6 separate regions of the Homo sapiens genome follow, and all the other regions are linked to region 6. The links are contacts of gene promoters, found by promoter capture Hi-C in blood cells and fetal thymus (Javierre and others, 2016). All regions are on one chromosome and are shown on one strand. The core of a region is centred on a gene start or on the middle of the fragment in contact, and the rest is flanking DNA. Distances in the headings are between cores, read along the strand shown.

Region 1 (3,782 bases), core at 151-2,650, 150 kb before region 6:
TAGATTTTAGATTTCTGTAGGATGACTGTCTCTTTGAGATATTCCCAGGAAACCTTAGGATATACTTATATTCATATATGTCAGGTAGTACATATTTTAAGTCAGAGCATCTCAAATTACCCTCTCAGGTTGATGAAAGTATACCAGATTTCCCCACCCATAATGCAATAGTGGACAATCTTATTTATATAAATTATATAAGAATAGCATATATTTAGCAAGCAAACAAAACTGGATGGAGAATCTCCTGACTTATTTACTTCAATAAAATTTATTGTATTGCTATATTACAATATTTCAATAGTTTATTAGGAAGGCACTTATTGTCATACTTACTGTAATTATGAAATGTTAGAACTAGAACAGATGGGCTGGGCGTGGTGGCTCATGCCTCTAATCCCAGCACTTTGGGAGGCCAAGGCAGGAGGATTGCTTGAGCCCAGGTGTTCGAGACCAGCCTTGACAGCATGGTGAGACCTGGTCTCTTTAAAGAAAAGAAAAAAGAATTAGAACAGATGTACTATCATTTACCAGCTCCTTTTTTGATAGATGATTCTTAAATGAGCTTAGATGACTTTCCATAGTTGTCATACAGTTAATCTATGGGAGAACTTGAACTCGAACCTAGTCTTATTAACTAGAAAGTAGCACCTTATGTGCTTAGATCACCAGTCAACTAAGTAAAAAAAAATTTTTTTTTAATTGCAAAAATAGGACAGAGAATTCCCGGCAAATTTTATTTTGATTTGCAGTTTTCCCATGTATTCTGTAATCTTTTAAAAAGTGTTTTGGCCAACTAACTTTTTAATAAGGGCAATTGTACAACCTCTTAATTCTGAATTAATTATACAAATTCTTAACTCTATTCCCATTTTAAAGCTTATGGAATTCATTTTATAACTTTATGCTCTATTTATACGACAGATTATCCATAGATTCTGAAGATTATTTAACCCAATAAGGGTAAAAGCTTTTGTCATTAAGTATTTTAATATTCTTATTGCAAAGTTGATATTAAAATGAAGGTTGTATATAATGATATCTTGTTTATCTTGTTTTTTGTTACTATAGAGAATTAAATTTTGGGAGTTCTGTGGAAGTACAAGGGCAGCTGATAAAAAGTCCATCCAAAAGGCAAAATGTGGAACTGAAGGCAGAAAAAATTAAAGTTATTGGAAATTGTGATGCCAAGGTATGATTTCTGACACTTTTGTGGAGGCTGTTTAGGCTTTAATTAAGACAGCAATCTGTTTTAAGTGTGATTATTAGGAAGATGAAACTTAGAATATATTTCATTTGTGACAGATAATTGAAACAAGCCATATGACCTGTAGAGGCAGTAGCAAAAATTATTTATGTACATAGCTTAGTGAGAGGTAAGTGTTGATTTTTGCATCTCTGTGGTGTGTGTCACAGTTAAAACTTGCTGCTTTTACAAGCATGCCCAGTCAGCCACCATGATATACCAGGGTGGGCTCATTCTTAGGAAAGCCAAGAATGACTTTTGCATGATGTAGAACCGATCATCCAATAATGGTAGGCTCTAGCCACCTTTGGCTGTTTGGTATTAAATCCATTAAAATTCATTAAAAAAATCCAGTTCCTCAGTGGCATTACCCACATTTCAAGTGCTCAGTAGTTGCATGTGGCTACTGGCTACTATATTGGATAGCACAGAATATTTCCATTTATCACAGAAAGTTCTGTTGGGTGATGCCGATCAGTAGTATTGTAAGGCTTAGGCCGAATAGAGGCAAGAAATTCTGTATTAAGACATGTTTATGCCTGTTTTTGCAAGACTCTTCTGTTAGCTTCATATATATAAGCTTGATAAAGAGGTTAGAGAGAATAAAAGATTATTAATGAAATTCTTTAAATTTACAGTGGAGAAAATGAGGCCCAGCCAGATGAAGTGATTTGCTTAACATTATGAGCTGATGTGGCACAGCTGAAATTTATATTCTAGCCATTTGAATCCTCTGTGTTTTTGCTACACCTGTCTTCAAATATTTAATGAACAAAAATGAGGAAATATAGGAAAATTGCATCATTTTAATTCATTGTGTATTCTTTCAGTATAATAGGAAGAAATGTAAGGAAATAAAAGAAGAAAATGCAATTTTTATTAAAATGTCATCCTTAATTTCCAAGAAATTCTAATTGATGTAAAATCAGAAATCAGGTTCTAAGATTTCTGAGAAATAGAGTGTAGAATAATTTGGAAATCAAGAGCGTAATATAGACGGTAACCATTTTTCTTTTTGTTTTTTTTAGAGGGATCTGTGATTACTAAAAATTTGCCGTGTGTTTCACTGTAGTAGTTCAACCTTGTCTGTGGTTTTGCTTTTCACGGTTTGTTGCCCACGGTGAACTATGGTCTCAAAATACTACATGGAAAATTCTAGAAATAATTCTTAAATTTTAAATTGCATGCCATTCTCATTGTGTCATGGAATCTTGAGCCGTCCTGCTCCATCCTGCCTAGAATGTGAATCATCCTTTTGTCCTGCTTATCTGTACTTTATACACTACCTGGCCATTGTTGTGGAAGAAAAAACATAATGTTTATATGGTTTGATACTGTCCGTGGTTTTAGGCGTCCACTGGGGGTCTTGGAACATATCCCCTGTGGGTAAGTGGGGGACTACTATATTCTTAAATTGTTCTTCCTTGGCTTCTGTTGGTGTTGATGGCTTCATCTTCCCTGAAGCCCTCTGATTCAGTATCATTTTGAAGTATTCCAACATTAGGGAATTCTGACCCCTAGAATTATGATATGGTCACATTTTCACTTTTAGTAAGTATAGTGCTTGTTTCTATACGACATAAAAGTTTGTATTTGTACAAGACTTAGAATGGATGAGACTGAAAGAAACAGGCTGCCAGTGTAGCTCTTTTTTAGCTTCTCTGTTATCTTTTTAATTAAAACTTTGATTTTTGTCTGAAAGGATGTGTCTGTCTTAATCTTGTAACATGAATGTGAGCAGTGTAGACATATTTCAATGTGGAGCCATAATTTTCTTTCAAATTTTTTGTAAATCTTTACTACTCTGCTAGATGGAAGTAGCACGTTGATAATAGTAATGAATTGCACCAATTGATTATGAATGATATGGGCTTTCAAGACATATAGGTAATTTTAAAATTGAACACCAGCCTTGTGTGTACATCTTTAATATCTACAATATTTTGAACTCCTGTGTGCCAAACAGTGGATATTTTGCATAATTAATCCTAACCTATTTGTAGGAAGTGGTTCACAGCTAATGGATACAAACTTGATAAATAACAGATGAGCTTCAGTGATATTAGCTCAGTTACTTGGCTAATAAGTAGTTGAGCTAGATTCAAACCTACATGTCTCTGATTCCGTCCTACCATTCCACTTACCTGGTGGAAATAATGTGGATTAAAATCAGTTATATTAAGAAATAAAGAAGGAAAGGATCTTAGTTTGGTTCCAAAGCGCTATTTAAGAAATACCCTGGAAACTGATTTTATTAAACAGTATCTCTTTTGACTTCTAATTTGTTCTTTTCATTTATTGGCAGGATTTCCCCATCAAATATAAAGAGAGGCATCCTCTGGAGTATCTGCGACAATATCCTCACTTTAGGTGTAGGACTAACGTTCTGGGTTCTATATTGAGGATTCGCAGTGAAGCGACAGCTGCTATTCATTCTTTCTTTAAGGTAAGATCCTAAAAGTTCCCTCTTGACCCTTTAAACAGTTTTAATAACTGTTTAAAAACAGTTGTGTCTTTTTCTCCTGATGTTAACATG
Region 2 (3,529 bases), core at 821-3,320, 140 kb after region 6:
GCAGGTTGTACTAAAAAGTTAGAAAACTTGTTTTTCTGCTACTTACTGTGTGTAACATTGTTACTTCAACTCACCCTGCCTTAGTGGGGGTCCCCATGGATAAACTGATTATGGCTTTGCAAGTTCTCCCTTGCCTAAAAATGCTGTGAGTTTGGATCTGTATTCTAGCCTAAAGAAATAGTTGCTCTAAAGTGTCATCATCTAACTTCCTGATCTAGACAGTGGGAATGCCACATCTTACTTTATAGTGATAAGACCCTGTTTACATAGTGAGATGCTGCACAAACATGCATTCCAAAGTAATCCTCCATTTTTGAAACTTGGGAAATCTGAAAAGGGGACAGGTCATGTGGCACCTGCAGGTCCCACAGTCCCCGTCTTTAACCTATGATATCTGAGGACCTATTAAAAGCTTTAAGGTCGTCTGGGCATGGTGGCTCATGCCTGTAATCCCAGCACTTTTGGGAGGCCGAGGCAGGTGGATCACCTGAGGTTGGGAGTTCGAGACCCGCCTGACCAATGTGGAGAAACCCTGTCTCTACTAAAAACACAAAATTAGCCAGGCGTGGTGGCACATGCCTGTAATCCTAGCTACTCAGGAGGCTGAGGCAGGAGAATCGCTTGAACCCTGGAGGCGGAGGTTGCAGTGAGCCAAGATCATGCCATTGCACTCCAGCCTGGGTAACAAGAGTGAAACTCCATCTCAAAAAAAAAAAAAATGCATTAAGGTCAGGCACAGTGGCTCATACTTATAATCCCAGTGCTTTAGGAGGCTGAGTTGGGAGGATCTCTTGAGACCAGCCTAGGCAACATAGCAAGACCTTGTCTCTACAAAAAAATGTTTTAATTAGCTGGGCGTGGTGATGTGCGTCTGTAGTCCCAGCCACCCAGGAGGCTGAGGTGGGAGGATCGCTTGAGCCCAGGAGTTCAAGATTGCAGTGAGCTTTGATTGTGCCACTGCACTCCAGCCTGGGCAACAGGGCAAGACCTGTCTCTGAAAGAAAAAAGCTTTGAAATAACTAATGACTTCTTCCCCCTCTTCTTACTCCTTCCTGATATGATTTAGGCCTGGAAGAAACGCTGGTTTATCCTGCGGAGTGGCCGGATGAGCGGTGACCCAGATGTTCTGGAATACTACAAGAACGATCACTCCAAGAAGCCTCTGCGGATCATCAACCTGAACTTCTGTGAGCAGGTAGATGCAGGCCTGACCTTTAACAAGAAGGAGCTGCAGGATAGTTTTGTGTTTGACATCAAGACCAGTGAACGCACCTTTTACCTGGTGGCTGAGACAGAAGAGGACATGAATAAGTGGGTCCAGAGCATCTGCCAGATCTGTGGCTTCAATCAGGCTGAGGAGAGCACAGGTATGAGAACGCACACAGATCTTTCTCATAGGGGGTTGAGGTGAGGCCCTTGGATTCCTGGAGCATTGAGAGCAGGCTCTAGCTAAGGTTTCCTGTTGGAAGAGCGTTCATAGATAAAGGGTAAAGAGTGTGAAGGGGTTGGCCAAATATTAGAGGGACACCTGGCCCTAATTATGCTCTAACTGGAAACCAAAAAAAAGTGTTGGGGTTGTGATAAAGCTAAAGGTATTTGTGGTGTTTCCTTAGGTGCCTCAACACCACTGCCGTTCCTCATCCCTCCTGTTTTCTCTCTTCCCTGTGCTGTCCAGCACTCTGTGTCCCATTATCTGTCACCCATCCCATAGGGAAGGTCTCACCTTGGTCCCTTCTCTCCTTCATCTCTGTCTGTCCTAGCCCATTTCAGGCCATCCTGCACAGTCACACTTGACCCTTGTTTGTGCGGGTTCTTTGTGATGATTATTGACGATTCAGTGTTCATTTATGTTTACTTGGGAGGGGACAGATAAAAGGAGGAAACAGTGATTTATGTTTGGGTTTTTATAATCTTCACAAAAGAGTAGCTCACCTTTTTGAAATGAGTGTTAAATTGTAGAAATGCTCCTTAACATTTGTTTAGGCTCATCTCAAACTCTCTGGGATGGTTGAAGAGCAGAGTTTTTTCTGGGGCAGTAGAATTGACCCAGGAATTCTACTCGCAGGCATATTCCCAAAACATGTTTACACAAACACTTGTACAAGAATGTTCACAGCAGTATTATTCATAATAGCCAAAAAGTGGAAACAACCCAAATATCCATCAATAAATCAAATATGGTATATACATATATATTACTAAGCCATAAAATGGTATGAAGTACTGAAAACATGTTAAGTGAAAGAAGACAGAGAGGACCATCTTTTTATGATTCCGTTTGTATGAAGGCTCAGAGCAGGCAAATCCACAGAGACAGAAAGTACATTGGTGGTGACTGAGAGTGACAGTGTGAGAAGCGACTGCTTATGAGTATGGGGTTTCTTCTTGGAGTGGTAAAAATGTTCTGGAATTAGATAGTGATGATATTTGTACACTTTCATGAGTATACTAAAAACCACTGTATTTTACACTTTAAAATGCTGAAATTTATGGCGTGTAAATTATGTCTCATTCTTTAAAAAAAAGTTCCTCAGGTGATTCTGAGGACCAGCCAGGTTAGGGAGCCCCTAGATGTAAGACCAGGTTCGTGGACATGTGAACTGTGGAGTCACAAAGAGCCCCATCCTTAGAAGGTCTTGCACTTCGTTTAACACTCCACTATTACTATCTTGAAGTTCTTAATAGTTTTTTTAACAGGAAGTTCTGCGTTTTCATTTTACACTGGGCTCTGCAAATTATGTAGCCAGTCATTCCTGAACTAGATATCCTAACCTAGGAATTCTGTGATTTTTATCTTCCTTGGGGAAGGATAATGAGCCCCTATTTATTAAGTTCTTTGGTATAATCTTCTTGCTTCCTGAGTGGAATTTCCTGTTTTCCCCAAATCTTTGTCATTTATAGGTTTCATGGAGGTTGTTTTTGTTTTTTTCCTTTATTTTATTCCTGATGGAGAGCAATGCATATTCAGTAAAAAAAAGTGGTAGAGGGAAAGGGGCCCCAGCTGGGGCAGCATAGCGAGACTAGAGTGCAGTGACACAATCATGGTTCACTGTAACATTTTTATTTCGATAAAAAATAAAAATTAGCTGGGCATGGTAGCATGCCTGTAATCCCAGCTACTAGGGAAGCTTAGGTAGGAGGATTGGTTGATGCCAGGAATTCAAGGTTGCAGTGAGCTGTGATCACACCACTGCACTCCAGCCTGGATGACAGAACGAGACCCTGTGTCCTAAAAAAAAAAACAAAAATGTTGGGGGTGGGGAATAAGAAACGAATTAAAAGGCCAGGGAGCTGGGCACAGTGTTTCACGCCTGTAATCCCAGCACTTTGGGAGGCTGAGGCAGGCAGATCACCTGAGGCCTGGAGTTCGAGACCATCCTGACCAATAATGGTGAAAACCCGTCTCTACTAAAAATACAAAAATTAGGCTGTGGTGACGTGCACCTGTATTCCCAGCTACTCAGGAGGCAGAAGTGAGAGAATTGCTTGAACTCAGGAGGCAGAGGTTGCAGAGACAAGATCGCACCAC
Region 3 (3,608 bases), core at 38-2,537, 150 kb after region 6:
ATATAATATATGAAAACAGTACTATTTAACACAACAGCATGTCAATAATAATTCAGACCTTTTTCAGTTACAATGTTGGACTTTTTAGAGAATTTTGTGGAGATATGTTAGATTGGTAAATAAAAGCTGTTCTCATTTTCCTTACAGTAGAAAAATATACCCAGAAGTTATGTTTATTGCTCCCCCAATGAGATGTTTTACTTAAAAAAAAAAAAAAAAATTGACAGGAGACTGACATCCTTGCCCAGGTGACTAGGCACTCAGTCACTGGTAAGAAAATCACTTGATCTCTCTGAACTGTAGGCTTTCTGTCAGTAAAGTATTAATATTAAACTAAATGATCCCGTGGGTTATTTCCAGACCTGTGCTTCTGTGATATGGAAAAAGAATAAATGGTTAAGAATCAGAAAGAACAAGCTGGTGATTTAAGCTTGTTAGTACAAGTTTACCATATTAGACTGTTGATTTTTTTTTTTTTTTTTTCCCCCAGACAGAGTCTCACTCTGTCGCCCAAGTTGGAGTGCAGTGGCGCGATCTCGGCTCACTGCAACCTCTGCCTCCTGGGTTCAAGCAATTCTCCTGCCTCAGCCTCCCTACTAGCTGGAACTACAGGCACCCACCACCATGCCCAGCTAATTTTTTGTATTTTTAGTAGAGATGGGGTTTCACCGTGTTAGCCAGGATTGTCTTTATCTCCTGACCTCGTCATCTGCCCGCCTTGGCCTCCCAAAATGCTGGGATTACAGGTGTGAGTGACTGCGCCCGGCCAGACTCTTGAATCTTTAAATTCTGTATGCTGACCAACAACTAGCACATTGTTTGTGCCTAAGGTGTGCTCTAATAAAAAGGAATATGGTTTCTTATAATAATACTAATGGGCTCTTCAAACTAGCTTATCTTGTCATTTCTTCTCTTGGTTATTTCAAAGCATAAATTTGGGATTCGATGGTTTCAGTTTTAGCTTAAATCTGTATCCTTGGTGATGAACTTAAATTAGATGCTAATATTTTGAAGGAGGACATGTTTATGCAAACCAGAGTGAGAACTTTTAGTCTAAGGGTCAGCAAACTTTCTCTGTAAAGGGCCAGATAGTAAATACTTTAGGCTTTGTCATCTGTACTTTGTAGCAACTACTCAGCTTTGCTGTTGTAGTATATATGCAGCCATAAACAATTATGTAAATAAGTTGATACAGCTGTGTTCTAGTGAAACCACAGAAACAGACCAGATGTAATGTATGGGCTGTAGTTTGCTGACCCCTGTTCTGGTGTAATAATATGCTTTGGCAGGCCTGCTCAAATAATGTACTCAGTATGCAGGCCCACTCAGTACAGATAGTATTTTGGCCTTCCCAGTGGTGTTAAAAAGACAACTCTCCCTTTTGGACTGCAATTTTAAAAACCTAGAGATGGCAAGGCAACAAGACACAAGTCTGGGAGATGAGTAGGGAAACTACAGATGTGAAACCAGGAGATTATTGGGACCCCCGGGACTGGAGGCAGGGGCTGAGAAAGAGCTGCCAGCTACAAGCTGGGTCCTGCGAGGCTCTGTAGCTGAAGTCCTCTACTCAGCACATGAAGGGCAGCTGACCCCATTTTTGTACCCTCTGCGACAGATCCTGCCTCTGGTCAAACCCTGAAGGTCTGGGAACACAGAGTTCAAGATCTTTTCCCTCACCAGGTTACCTCCCACAGTGCAGTGCTGAGGGCCAGCTACCATTTGTGGAGCACCCATGTGCAGGGACTATGTCATTTCTTATTCCCCAGAACAATTCTTCAGGTAGCTGTTTTATAAATTTTACAAATTAGAACTCTTGGATTCAGGTACCATCCCTAGGTTTCACAACTAGTAAGCTGAGATTCGGACTCCAACGTGCATGTTCCTTTCCCAGTAGCACACTGCTTCTCCTGAAGCCGAAGTTCCCCTTCAGAGAATTATGTAGATCTCATAATTCCCTAGGCAAAACTGGAGCTCTTTGAATCCTAGCCTAGCCATCCACACTATACCAGTTTAAGGTGCAATCTTGTGATTATTGCCGCTGATCACGATTCTTGATAAGCATCCACAACTGATAAGTCTGACGCTTCTGTTTTACACCAATTGCCAGTTGTCTCAGAGTCACTGTGAAAGGAGGGAAAAGCTTATCTCTTATAAAGTTGGTTAGCTTCAAAATACAGTGATGTATTTTGGATATTTCTGTGGAAAGGTTACAAGGGTCAAATGCATCATTAATGTGAACTTAATATACCCACTTGATGGATTGATTCCTGTGGGAAAACTAATGGGTTCCCAAAGTTCCTCGGGGGAGGGCTGAAGTGCTCCTCCGAGTATAAATTTGTTCTTTCTGACTGCATGTAAGCTCATAAAGCATAGGCCACCCTTTGGGGCTGGCCTGCAGCTCAGTAGTGCCTCTCGTACCTGCTCCAGACCCTAAGTAAATCACAAGAGTGCTTCATTTCAAATATGAATGAATCCTTGATGGGACCAACTAACCAACCCAAGCCCCACACGAAGGAACAGGAGAAGGGTCTGCCGCAGCTAAGGGGTACGATAGGTATAAACAAAGCTTGTAACCTGACCTCTTGCAAATCAACAGCACAGTGCATGGCTAAAGATAGACTTGCTATCCCCAAACAGAAATACACACAACCCAGAAAACCTCACTAAGTGATAACAATTTCTTGTACCCTAAATAACTGTTTACATTTGGATCTCATTTGGTCATTCTTCTAACCCAGGGAGGAAAGATTCCAACAGAACTTGCTGCTCTAGTGTGTTTATTGAAGATCGCCTTGTTCTGGTTCTGGTTCTGGTTTTTGTTTTGGTTTTGTTGAGACAGGGTCTCACTCTGTCGCCCAGGCCGGAGTGCAGTGGTGTGGTCACAGCTTACTGCAACCTCGACCTCCTGGGCTCAAGTGATCCTCCCACCTCAGCTCCCCAGCCCCCCAGTCTGGGACTGCAGGCATCTGCCACAATGCCCAGCTAATTTATATGTATGCGTGAGATATATATATATCTCAGACATACATATACACACACACATATATATATACATACATACATATATAGAGACAGACAGACAGCGTCTTCCAGTGTTGCCCAGGCTGGTCTTGAACACCTGAGCTCAAGTGATCCTCCTGCCTTTGCCTCCCAAAGGGCTGGGACCTCCTTGTTCTAATTGGAATGTTTTCTAGGCATAGAACATTGTGCTAAACACGATTAGAGAAAAAGATATGGTCTGGATCCTGGATTCTAACAGCTTATAGTTTCACTTCACATGACAGATTTATGAATTCCCAATTAGAATAAATGGCAAAATTATGTACTACAAAAGATTTAGAAGGCATAGACTGGGCGCGGTGACTCATGCCTGTAATCCCAGCACTTTGGGAGGCCAAGGCGGGCAGATCACCTGAGGTCAGAAGTTTGAGACCAGCCTGGCCAACATGGTGAAACCCTGACACTACTAAAAATACAAAAATTAGCTAGGTGTGGCAGTGGGTGCCTGTAATCCCAGCTACTCGGGAGGCTGAGGCAGGAGAATCACTTGAACCCAGAAGGCGGAGGTTTCAGTGAGCCAAGATCGCACCATTGCACTCCAGCCTGGG
Region 4 (3,788 bases), core at 475-2,974, 170 kb before region 6:
ACCTTCTCTGTGCTAATATAAAGTGCTCATGATGTTATCAGCTAAGGCTAGTCCTCCACTTGAACACTAGATCACACCCCCTTTCACCAATTCAAACTCATCAACACTAGGAATTTTCTTCTGTCTTTCCTGTGTCAAGTTTTCCTCTCTTCTAGATCTTTCCCTTCCGGTTTCTGGTCTAGCAAGTAAGGAGCTTGGAAGTCATCACTCCTGTCTTCACAACAATAAAAAAGCTAAATAAACTGAAAATCAGTTGAAGTAACAGGGCACACTTCTGTCCCCCAAACTGGAGAGACAAATGGGTAAATACAGAGAATCACAACTTACTGGAATAGAAGCCCAGGGGCAGAAAACTCTGCAAGAACGAGTACTGGGGAACGAAAAACCCAAACTATAATAGATGAATTGCTGGAGGCTCTGTGTGGACAAGTTTGAAAGTTAAAAACTCCAGGGCATGTGGCCAGTCATACTGGATTTTACCTCCACTTTCGTGAGTTTTACCTCCAAGAACCCTACCAGGTTCTCAGGGTGAAGATCAGCAAAAAAAAAAAAAACAAAAAAAAAATCCTCATGCTTCTGGCAAGAGGAGGGGAAAAATAGCCATTCGAAATATGCCAAAGTGTCCAGCTCTTCTTAACAAAGCCTGCTCTCAATGGAAACTATGTTATCAGAGGCTAGCTGACTGGATTTTACCAGAGACTAATCACAGGAGAAGGAAAATACCCAACTCCAGCCCCTTTTTGCCAACTAAAGCGGGAAAGAACTGAGAAGCGCTTGTGAAAGGTGCAGCCCAGGAGCACAGGCTCGCTAAAGTCTAAGACCTAATCACAGGTCTATAGAATTCTTCCTCTCTCTCCACACCTCACCACTATATCAACAGGACTTATCTGTATGATAATAAGGGAGTACAACAGAAATAACTGCATGTTATTTCTGAGACCTCCCAAGAAGTCTCTAGGGAAATCCAAAGATAACAGGTGAGACAAAAACAAGGACACCGGAGGAAATTTTTGCCTCTGACTCCCACAGCTACAACAAACAGTAAACACAGCCTAACTTCTAACTAGATAAATAAGATAAATATACAACTTCCCACTGAAGACTTATTTACAGGCCGGGTGTGGTGGCTCACACCTGTAATCCTAGCACTTTGGGAGGCCAAGGAGGGTGGATCACTTGAGGTCAGGAGTTTGAGACCAGCCTGGCCAACATGGTGAAATCCCATCTCTACTAAAAATACAAAAATTAGCCCAGGTGTGATGGCTCGTGCCTGTAGTTCCAGCTACTTGGGAGACTGAGGCTGGAGAATCACCTGAACCCAGGAGGCGGAGGTTGCAGTGTGCCGAGATCACGCCTCTGCGCTTCGGCCTGGGTAACAGACCGAGACTCCATCTCAAAATAAATAAATAAATAAATGAAAATAAAGATGTATTTACCTCAGTTCCTTTTATCCACTACATTGTGTCCAACTTTCAACAAAAAAATTAAAGATAAAGATTAAAAAAAATAAAATTACAAGATAAACTAAAAGACAAAAAAAAAAACACAGTTTGAAGAGACAGAGCAAGCATTAGAATCAGACTCAGATATGGCAGAGATGTTAGAATTATTAGACCAGGAATTTAAAACAATGGTGATTAATATGCTAAGGGCTCTAATGGAAAAATCAGATCTTTCTTATCACCAGACAAACATGCTATTATTTCTCACATATTAAAGAAGTCCGCTTTCATGACCACATTCTTCCACCAGTTACCACCTCAGTTTTTCTGCTCCCCTTACAACAAAACTTCTTGAAAACCCTGTCTCCAATTTCTCTTCTCCCATTCTTTTTTACATACCATTTTTATTATAGAAAAATCTCCAACATGAATAGTACAATGAATTCCTGTGTATGTTACCCAACTTCAATATTTTTCAACATTTTACCAGTCCTATTTCATCTATTCCATCTATACTGTTTTATTTTTTTTCTGAAATATCTAAAACCAAATTCTAGATATCACATTTCACCCATAAATTCTTTAGGATTGTATCTTTAACAGCGAAGAATTTTGTGCATAATTCCTCAATATCAACTAATATTAGGAATTAAAGGACGTCATTACAGATCCTACAGACACTGAAAGAATAATATGAACAATTTTATGCCAAGAAATTTAGCTGCTTAGATAAATTTCTCAAAACATACAACTTACAAAAACTGACGGAAAAAGAAATACAAAATCTGCACAACATCATATTTATTAAACATGTTAAATCTGTAATTCAAAACCGTCTCATAGGCCGAGTGCAGTGGCCCATGCCTATAATCTCAGAACTCTGGAAGACTGAGGAGAGGGGATTGCTTGAGCCCAGAAGTTCAAGACCAGCATGGGGAACATAGCAAGACCTTGTCTCTAAAATAATTAATTAATTTAATTTAATTTAACTTTCTCATGAAGGAAGCTCTAGGCCCACATGACTACACAATGAATTATATTCAAACACTTAAAAAGGAAATAATATCAATCTTAGAGAAACTCAAAAAATAATACTCTGTGCTGTTGAACTATTTTTATGTCTTTAAAAAATATATCTTTTCTCTGTTGACTTAAGTCATAATCCAAGTAAGCATTCATGCATTACATTTGATTGCTATGTGTTTTATTTTTCCTTTAATCCATAATGTCTCCTCTCTTTTTTTTGAGATGGAGTCTCGCTCTGTCGCCCAGGCTGGAGTGCAGTGGCATGATCTTGGCTCACTGTAACCTCCGTCTCCTGGGTTCAAGCGATTCTCCCACCTCAGCCTTGCAAGTAGCTGGAATCACAGGCACGTGCCACCATGCCCAGCTAATTTTTGTATTTTTAGTAGAGATGGGGTATCACCATCTTGGCCAGGCTGGTCTAGAACTCCTGACCTCAAGTGATTCACCGGCCTTGGCCTCACAAAGTGCTGGGATTACAGGCGTGAGCCACCACGCCCAGCCTCTCTTAGCCATTTTCAAGTACACAGTACATTATTATTAGCTGTAGTCACCATTTTTACAATAGATCACCCGAACTTACTTGTGTCTAACTAAAACTTTGTACCTTTTTATCAGCATCTCCCCATTCCTCATAACCAGACCCTGGTAATCACCATTCTACTCTCTGCATCTCAGATTGACTGTTTTTAGAGTCATAAGACCATGCAATATTTGTCTTTCTACGCCTTGCTTATTTCACGTAGCATAATGTTTTCCAGGTTCATTCATGTTGTCACAAATGACAGGATTTCCTTCTTTTAAAGAGCTGAATAGTATTCCATTGTGTGCATGTACATTTTCTTTATCCATTAATCTGTTAATGAACATTTAGATTGATTCCGTGTCTTGGCTATTGTAAATAACGCTTCATTGAACATAGGAGTGCAGATATGTCTTTCATATACTGTTTTCATTTTCTTTGGATATATACTCAGAAGTAGAATTGTTGAAGCATATGATAATAGTTCTATTTTTAATTTTTTGAAGAGGAATCTTCATACTGGTTTTCCATAATGACTGTATTAATTTACATTCCCACCAGCAATGTATAAGAGTTCCTTTTCTCTGTATCCTCTCCAAACTTGTCTTTCATCTTTCTGATAGTAGTTCTTCTAACAGGTGTGAGGTGATATTTAATTAATTTGCATGTCCCTGATGATTAGGAATGTTGAACATTTTTTCATATATATATTGACTATTTTGTGTCTTCTTTAGAGACGTCTCTATTGAGGTACTTTGCCCATTTTAAAATCTGGTTGTTTTTTCGCAATTGAATTGTTT
Region 5 (3,605 bases), core at 267-2,766, 180 kb after region 6:
CAGGCATGAGCCACCATGCCCAGCCTTTTTTTTTCTTTTTTTTTTTCTAGACAGAGTCTCACTCTGTCGCCCATACTGGAGAGTACGGTGGTGTGATCTCAGCTTACTGCAACCTCCGCCTCCCAGGTTCCAGCGATTTTCATGCCTTAGCCACCCGAGTAGCTGGGATTACAGGCGTGTGCCACCATGCCCACTAATATTTGTATTTTTAGTAGAGACGGAGTTTCACCATGTTGGCCAGGCTGGTCTCGAACTCCTGATCTCAAGTGATCTGTCCGCCTCAGCCTCCCAAAGTGCTGGGATTACAGGCATGAGCCACCACACCCAGACTGATTTTGTATTTATTTGGATCTTTTCCCGTTTTTTCTTGGTCAGTCTTGCTACTGGTTTGATTTTGTTTATTCTTTGAAAAAATTAACTTCATTTTGTTGATCAGTTTTATTTTGTCTCAATTTTATTTCTGCTCTGATCTTTTTTTTCCCCTTTTACTAATTTTGGGTTTGGTTCTTGTTTTTCTGCTTCCTTGAGATGCATCATTAGGATGTTTATTTGAAAATTTTCTACTTTTTTGGTATTAGCATTTATTGCCATAAACTTCTCTATTAATACTGCTTTTGCTGTATTCCATAGGCTTTGGTATGTTGTGTTTCTATTTTCATTTGTTTCCAGACATTTCTAAATTTCATTCTTTTTCTTTTTTTTTTGTTTTGAGACGGAGTCTCGCTCTGTCGCCCAGGCTGGAGTGCAGTGGCATGATCTCGGCTCACTGCAAGCTCTGCCTCCCAGGTTCACACCATTCTCCTGCCTCAACCTCCTGTGTAGCTGGGACTACAGGTGCCCGCCACCACACCCAGCTAATTTTTTGTATTTTTAGTAGAGATGGGGTTTCACCGTGTTAGCCAGGTTGGTCTCGATCTCCTGACCTCGTGATCCGCCCACCTTGGCCTCTCAAAGTGCTGGGATTACAGGCATGAGCCACCACACCCGGCTCTAAATTTCATTCTTAATTTTTTCATTGACCCATTAAATCATTCAAGAGCATGTTGTTTAATTTTCCATGTATTTGTACAATTTTGAAATTTCCTCTTGTTACTGATTTCTAGTTTTATTCCATTGTGGTTAGAAAAGATGCTTGATGTGATATCAATTCTTTTAAAATCTCTTGGCCTAACATGAGGTCTGTCCTATAGAATGTCACATGTGCTAATGAGAAGAATTATACTCTGCAGCTGTTGGATGAAGTGTTGTTAGGTCCATTTGATCTAAAGCGCAGTTTAAATCTAATTGTTTCCCTGTTGATTTTCTGTCTAGGTGATCTGTCCATGCTGAGAGTGAGGTGTTGAAGTCTCCAACTATGATTATATTAGAGTCTGTCTCTCCCTGTAGATCTTAATGGTGTTCCATAAGTCTTGCAGGTTTTCTTCACTCTTTTCATTTGTATTCCCCCTTTCCTTCTGGCTGGGTAATTTCAAACTACCTTTCTTCAAGTTCAGATATTCTTTCTTCTAATTGATCAAGTTTGCTGTTGAAGCTCTCTGTTGTGTTTTTTATTTCATTCATTGAATTCTTCAGCTGCAAGATTTCTGGGTTTTTTTTTTTCTTTCTCTTTTTTGAATTTTTTTGTTCATATTGTGAATTCTTTTTCCTAATTTCTTTGAATTGTGTGTGTTTTCTTGTACCTCATTGAGTTTTCTTAAGGTCATTATTTTGAATTCCCTTTCTGTAATTTGTTGATCTCCTTTTCACTGGGCTCTAGTTACTAGCCAGAGTTCCTTTGGTGCTTTTTTGGTGTTATATTTCCTTCCTTTTTTGTGTTTCTTGTGTCCTCATGTTAAGTGTCCATGCTTCTGGTGGAAAGATCACCTCTTCCAGACTTTCTGGAGTGGATTTCTTAGAGAAAGACTTTCACCTGCAGTTGGGTTTTAGTGTTCCAGTTGAGAAGGATGTGATGACTGTGTTTCCACTTAGGTGCAATGGTATAGTCTCCATGCAGCTTCTTTGCCTATGTTCAACATCAACAATAACTGGGAGTGCCTCAGTGGCCTAGACTATAGAAGTTTGTGCAGCAGCGGTGGTAGCATAGGTTGTTAATATCCTTAGCGTAAAGGGCTTTTTGGGTCTTTCTCTTCTCATTTTCCCCAAATGAGGAGACTCAGTCAGGGGGATCCCTCTTAGTGTCAGGTCTGGCATGGCCTACAAGTAGCTGCAGCAGTGCTGGGTTCTAGGTACTGGTGCTTGGAGCTTATGTGGCGTTGGGTTTCTAAGCTCAGAGTCTCATGAACCTATTGTGGCAGCTGGGTCTTGGGGTGCAGGTTCACTCTCCGTAGCATGGTTGGATGTGGACTGCCCTCCGGGCCAGGATCTATGATATGACTCTGTTGAACCCTCTATCAGCTCAGGTCAGGGGCCAGCTGTGATTCTACCCCTGGTAGGCAGAGCACAGCACTGGCCTCACCCTGGGCAAGAAGGGATGTTCTGGAGGTTTGGTTTCAGGGAGGAGGATACAACTAGAATTTGGGAACCTGAGTCAATAAGGCTCAATGGCAACTTGGGTCCCAGGGATTGATACACCATGTAGCAGTGACTCTACATGGTCCCTCTTTAGGCTTAGCAAATACCCGGGAATGGCAGAGTATAGCTGTGTTTTGGGCTACAGAGGGGCAGGGAACAGCAGAGCAATGACTCTACTCCCCAGGGAGAGGCGTATCTCAACAGCTCAGACTCTAGGGGGCTAGTGCAGCTCCAGGAAAGCAAGGCACTAGAGTTGTTTGGCCTGTAGGGCAGGGTGTCTCAGCTCAGACACTGCTCTTTTTCCCTGAAACACAGGGTCCTGTATCAGCTCAGCCTTGGAATGCACCCCCTCTCAGCTCAGCTAGGGCACCCATTCCCCAGGGGACAGTGTGCTACTTCAGCTCAGGCCCAGGAGGGTGTGACTGTTCTGAGTAGCCCAGGCATCCTTTCCCTGGAATGCAGGGAACCATATTATTTTAGCTACTGGGGTACCTCATTCTGGGGAGTCAGTGCACCGTTTCCTAGGATGCAGCCACTGGCTTCAGCTTAGGCACTGTGGAGGCATGACTGTTCTGAGCAGCCAAGATACTGTTTTCCTTGAAGAGAGCATACTGCTTCAGCTCTGGCCCAAGGGAGTGGGGAGAGGGGCAGGTGGATTAGCTTTACTTCTGCTTGACCCCCCTGGGAAGGGTGTAACAGCTGCTCACAGCTCAGCTTTGGAATGTTGGGCCACTGGGCTAGCAATGGCTCAGCCACAGCTTAGCCTCAGGAATGAAAGGGAGCCATGGCTACTCACCTCTGGAGCAAGACACACTCCAGCCATAGTTCCAATTCCAAGATGGCATAGCACAGTAGCCACACGGAACACAGCTATGTGGACCCTAGGCAACTTCCTTCACTGGGCTTAGTGCCTATGAGGACTTCAGGGGACTCCAGTGGTGAGGCCTGAGATGTCCAAGGTGTTGATGGCAGTTGCCATGATCCTCTTGCCTACCTTCTCACCAAAAGAACTTCGTCCTTGTTCCAAACTGATCTTGCATGGAGTGGTGAAGGCCTAGTGTGTTTCCTTCTGTTCTCTGTGTGACCATCCCAAG
Region 6 (3,473 bases), core at 438-2,937:
ATCTCTGGGACTTGGCACCATGACTCAGATGTGAATGAAGTCAGGATAGTTTTATTTTGGTTGGAAGTCACCGCCTCCTGATTGATTTGGCAGACGTTAAGTGTTGTTTGTCTTACAGGGATTTAAGGTACTTAAAGCCAGAAGTTAAAATGGCCATCATTCTGGTGGTGGCCCTTCATACGTGACTTAAGGATCCCTAAATTGTAAGGTTAAGGGAGCTGTGGTCCCAGCCTACCAGTTCTGGCTTTACTTCCCATCCAGCAGCACACTGGATATTGAAGAAAGTCAGTGAAATGTTAGATCCAGGGGACTGACCGCTAAAACTCCCAGGGTATCTAGAAGAGCTAAGTACGTGGTAGGGGATTCGCTTTTCCAAATTGAGGAGGGTGAACTTCCCCCAACCCAATCAAGATCTTTTGGACCAAATGATGTCCAACTGCTTGAAACAACTCAGCTGCACAGAGACAGAAATAAACAAAACAGCTTTAGTCTGAGGTTGTGTGGGGCACTGCAAGATGCTGCTTCTCCAATTCATCTGTCCACACAGCACGGTTCCCCATTGAATAAACAGGTTACTATCCACTTATCAGAGAAGTTAGGGAGGACCTGCCTTTTAATGCTGCTTAGAGAGACACTTTGTGATGAGAAAAGAGCTCGTACAAAAGATTTTTTTCTCCCCCCTCCCGCTGAAGTGCTGGGGTTGTGTGCTTCCACGTACATCTGGGATACCATTATATTTACAAACAGAGGTCTCATAGCCTGTGTCAATGAGCGGGAACGTTGGGGAATTTGGACCCCAATTTCTTGTTCTTCTGCACTTGACCTTGCCTTCCAATTCGTTATGAAATACATTGACTAGTTTTGCTTCTTCCATTCTACAAATCATGCGAATTTTCTATACTAAACTGTGTTTTCCCAGAGGCAGTGTAGGAGGGAGTCAGCTGGACTTGGTTTCCAGGCAATGAGAGGCTCCCAGGTCGATCCCATTAAGGCAATGCCCTCATTTTGAATAGCAGATGACCGGGACCCCTCCTCCCCCACACACCTGAATTGGAAAATTGGCTCGGCTTTGTACAAGCCCTTGCCCTTAGGCTGTCCATAAAATAGGAACAATACTGAAGACAATCCTGTAAGCTACAAAAGCAAAGGCTCCGGCGCGTAGTAGGTCCGTCTCCTCCTCCCGCCGAGGGACGCCAGAGTTAAGGAGCTTCTTGCTGGGAAGGGGTCCCTCCTTTCAGCCGGAACCTGACCCGCAGAATGTATCGGAAATGTGAGCAGCCCTAGTATCCCTTCCCCGTCGACGCTCGGTGAAAAATCGATCGACGACCGAGGGCGCGCAGTCCCTTCCCCTCACACCCGCCAGCGCCAGGGGCGCGGTCGCCTCCCTGGCCTCCGCGCCCGCGGCTTGGGGCCTCAGGAGAAAGCGAGACTCCGGGGCGCGCCGGCGGCGGTGGCTTTCTGTATCCTCGCGGGTCCCTAGCCCCGCGTCCGCGTGCGCGGCGGCCTCGGGGGCGCGGCGGGAGCGGGCGTGGCGAGCGAGCCGGCCTTCCTGCTGCAGCTGCTCCCCCGGCGGCCGGGCGGAGAGTGCGGATTGCGCGCGCTCGGGGCGGGGGAGCGGGCGCGCGCGAGGCTGCCGGGCTCGCGCCGCGCCGCGCCGCCTAGTCCCCGCCGGGCCGCCCGCCCCGCCCCTGGCCTCCCGCGAGCTGCGCACCGCCGGCCGCTGCCCCAGCTGCCCGAGCCCGCGCCCTCGTCCGCGCGACCCGGCGGGGGGCTCCAGGCCGGCAGCATGAGCGGCGGCGGCGACGTGGTGTGCACCGGCTGGCTGAGGAAATCGCCTCCCGAGAAGAAGTTGAGGCGCTATGTGAGTGCGGGCGCGGCCGCCCAGGGGCGGGCGGGGGGCGCTCCGGGGCCTGCGGAGGGGCGGGGGACTCCCGGAGGGGCGGCAGGCTGGGGAGCTCGGGCCCGGAGCCGCGGGGGGCCGGGGGCGAGGAGCGGCCGGGGGCGTGTGGGGCACCTGCACACCTGTCACAGGTGGGCCGCCGAGGGGCGGGGCGGGCGGCAGGTTGAGGCTGCGGCTCCTGCTCCGCCAGGCGGGTGCGGCTGCGGCGCCTCCCAAGCCGGTCTGCTCGTGAACTAAATACAGTGTCGAAGTTTTGTATTGATGGCTTCTGGAGACCGAGAGAGTTGACTCTCGGGGCTGGGGCTCCGCGGCAGCCCCGAGCAGCTTCAGCCCGCAGGGTCGGGGAGAGGGCGGGAAAGGGGGGCGTAGGCTGTGGGGCCGCGCGGACGGCCCCACAAAGGGCGAGCGCCTCACGCCCTCTCCTTCCCTTTCTCCGCCTGCCCCTCCCGGCCGCCGGCCTCCCTCCGTCCGCGGCTGCATCACCGGCAGCGTCAGCGGCATGTGCAGCCCTTGTATTAAGTGACTCATTTGTTTGTCCCCCTTCTTTCCCTTTATTCCGTTCGTCTCTCACAGGCGCCTCCCCCCGACCCCGGTGTGACACTGCAGTTTGGTCCCCGTGGCTGGCCCGGGTTTGGGACCGGGCAGCTCCCGGGTGTCTGGGGTCGGGAGAGATCGAGGCTCTCCGCGGCCAGGTGTTGCCAACCGACAGTGTTTACTGAGATCGCTGGAACAGCCTTTTCCCTCTAGGTGGGGAACTGGCAGCCTGGGGGAGGTGGAACAGCGTGGCGCTGAGCCGTGGAGTTCTGGCTTTTTTTTTTTTTTTTTTTAACCCCTCTCCCCAGAGGATGCCTTGCCTGGTGAGGTCAAAGTACAAGATGGTGCCAGTTACTGAGATTTGGCCGAAATGGTCTTGGGGTAGTCGCGGGAGTTTGGAAGTGGGGGTAAGGTTGCTGGAAGGTTTCAAGGTCTCTCATCTGCTCCCTCTCCGTTTCCCATGAAATGCCCTTGTTTAACGGGCTGTGGTGCCGAACTCCGGGATCACTCCCACAGCCTGGAAGGGAGCCGTTGCCTCCAGCTGCAGTGCATCAAGGGAGCTCGGAATAGACCCTGCCCTCTGTCAGCTGCACCAGTGGCTGTCCATGGGGGGAGAGGCAGAAGCCTACCAGAATTTCCTGTCTTGGCTCCCCAGATCAGAATCAAGGGACTTCTGGCCTCTGGACTGAGGAAGTGACATTCTGTTTTTCAAAGGAAGTGTTGTTGTTGCGGAGTACAAGTGTGTGTCAATGAAATCAGGCTCTTAGGTAGATGTTTGCTGGGGGAAAAAAATCTAAGGATTTAGCACATGAGTTTTGAAAGTGGACGTGGATTTATAGGAGGAATGAAGCAGTGAATTGTTCATCTCAGTTCGGAAGCTCATTTTTAGGAGTGTCTATGTAGCCAAAGTATAATTATTAAGAAATAAACTTTTTTCCTCTTCAGGGTTGTATCAGTTCGTTAGGAAGGTTGAATATTTTAATTAGGATTAAGGAGCAGTGATTTACTATTAACAATTTTATAAATAATTTAAAAACTT

Evidence for each region. The method cuts DNA at HindIII sites, captures the fragments that hold promoters and counts their contacts. A CHiCAGO score of 5 or more calls a contact.
Region 1: a contact is called between a fragment that was not itself captured here and the fragment with the promoter of GAB2 in region 6, in 17 of 17 cell types (megakaryocytes, total B cells, naive B cells and 14 more). The highest score is 35.3, in megakaryocytes.
Region 2: a contact is called between a fragment that was not itself captured here and the fragment with the promoter of GAB2 in region 6, in 11 of 17 cell types (neutrophils, monocytes, M2 macrophages and 8 more). The highest score is 22.3, in neutrophils.
Region 3: a contact is called between a fragment that was not itself captured here and the fragment with the promoter of GAB2 in region 6, in 8 of 17 cell types (monocytes, neutrophils, M2 macrophages and 5 more). The highest score is 11.1, in monocytes.
Region 4: a contact is called between a fragment that was not itself captured here and the fragment with the promoter of GAB2 in region 6, in 2 of 17 cell types (M2 macrophages and naive B cells). The highest score is 5.5, in M2 macrophages.
Region 5: a contact is called between a fragment that was not itself captured here and the fragment with the promoter of GAB2 in region 6, in 12 of 17 cell types (neutrophils, M2 macrophages, monocytes and 9 more). The highest score is 21.1, in neutrophils.

The regions. Positions count from the first base shown.
Region 1 is chr11:78,566,042-78,569,823 of GRCh38, reverse strand. It overlaps NARS2 (asparaginyl-tRNA synthetase 2, mitochondrial), which reads left to right. Exons shown (of 14, transcript NM_024678.6): 3 at 1,072-1,192; 4 at 3,552-3,692. Among named protein-coding and RNA genes, the nearest start is that of NARS2, 6.9 kb to the left of the region's middle. The HindIII fragment of the contact is 856 bases long and covers 973-1,828 here.
Region 2 is chr11:78,278,439-78,281,967 of GRCh38, reverse strand. GAB2 (GRB2 associated binding protein 2) reads left to right here. Exons shown (of 10, transcript NM_080491.3): 2 at 1,067-1,367. Among named protein-coding and RNA genes, the nearest start is that of USP35, 91 kb to the right of the region's middle. The HindIII fragment of the contact is 2,120 bases long and covers 1,011-3,130 here.
Region 3 is chr11:78,260,512-78,264,119 of GRCh38, reverse strand. The region is part of intron 2 of GAB2 (GRB2 associated binding protein 2); the gene reads left to right. Among named protein-coding and RNA genes, the nearest start is that of USP35, 73 kb to the right of the region's middle. The HindIII fragment of the contact is 1,710 bases long and covers 433-2,142 here.
Region 4 is chr11:78,590,188-78,593,975 of GRCh38, reverse strand. No RefSeq gene overlaps it. Among named protein-coding and RNA genes, the nearest start is that of NARS2, 17 kb to the right of the region's middle. The HindIII fragment of the contact is 7,888 bases long and covers 1-3,788 here.
Region 5 is chr11:78,239,606-78,243,210 of GRCh38, reverse strand. The region is part of intron 3 of GAB2 (GRB2 associated binding protein 2); the gene reads left to right. Among named protein-coding and RNA genes, the nearest start is that of USP35, 52 kb to the right of the region's middle. The HindIII fragment of the contact is 5,982 bases long and covers 1-3,605 here.
Region 6 is chr11:78,416,034-78,419,506 of GRCh38, reverse strand. GAB2 (GRB2 associated binding protein 2) reads left to right here and starts at 1,687. Exons shown (of 10, transcript NM_080491.3): 1 at 1,687-1,861. The coding sequence starts at 1,787. RefSeq lists silencers at 1,298-1,917, 2,028-2,127, 2,198-2,327, 2,790-3,084 and an enhancer at 1,947-2,701. The HindIII fragment of the contact is 5,597 bases long and covers 1-3,473 here.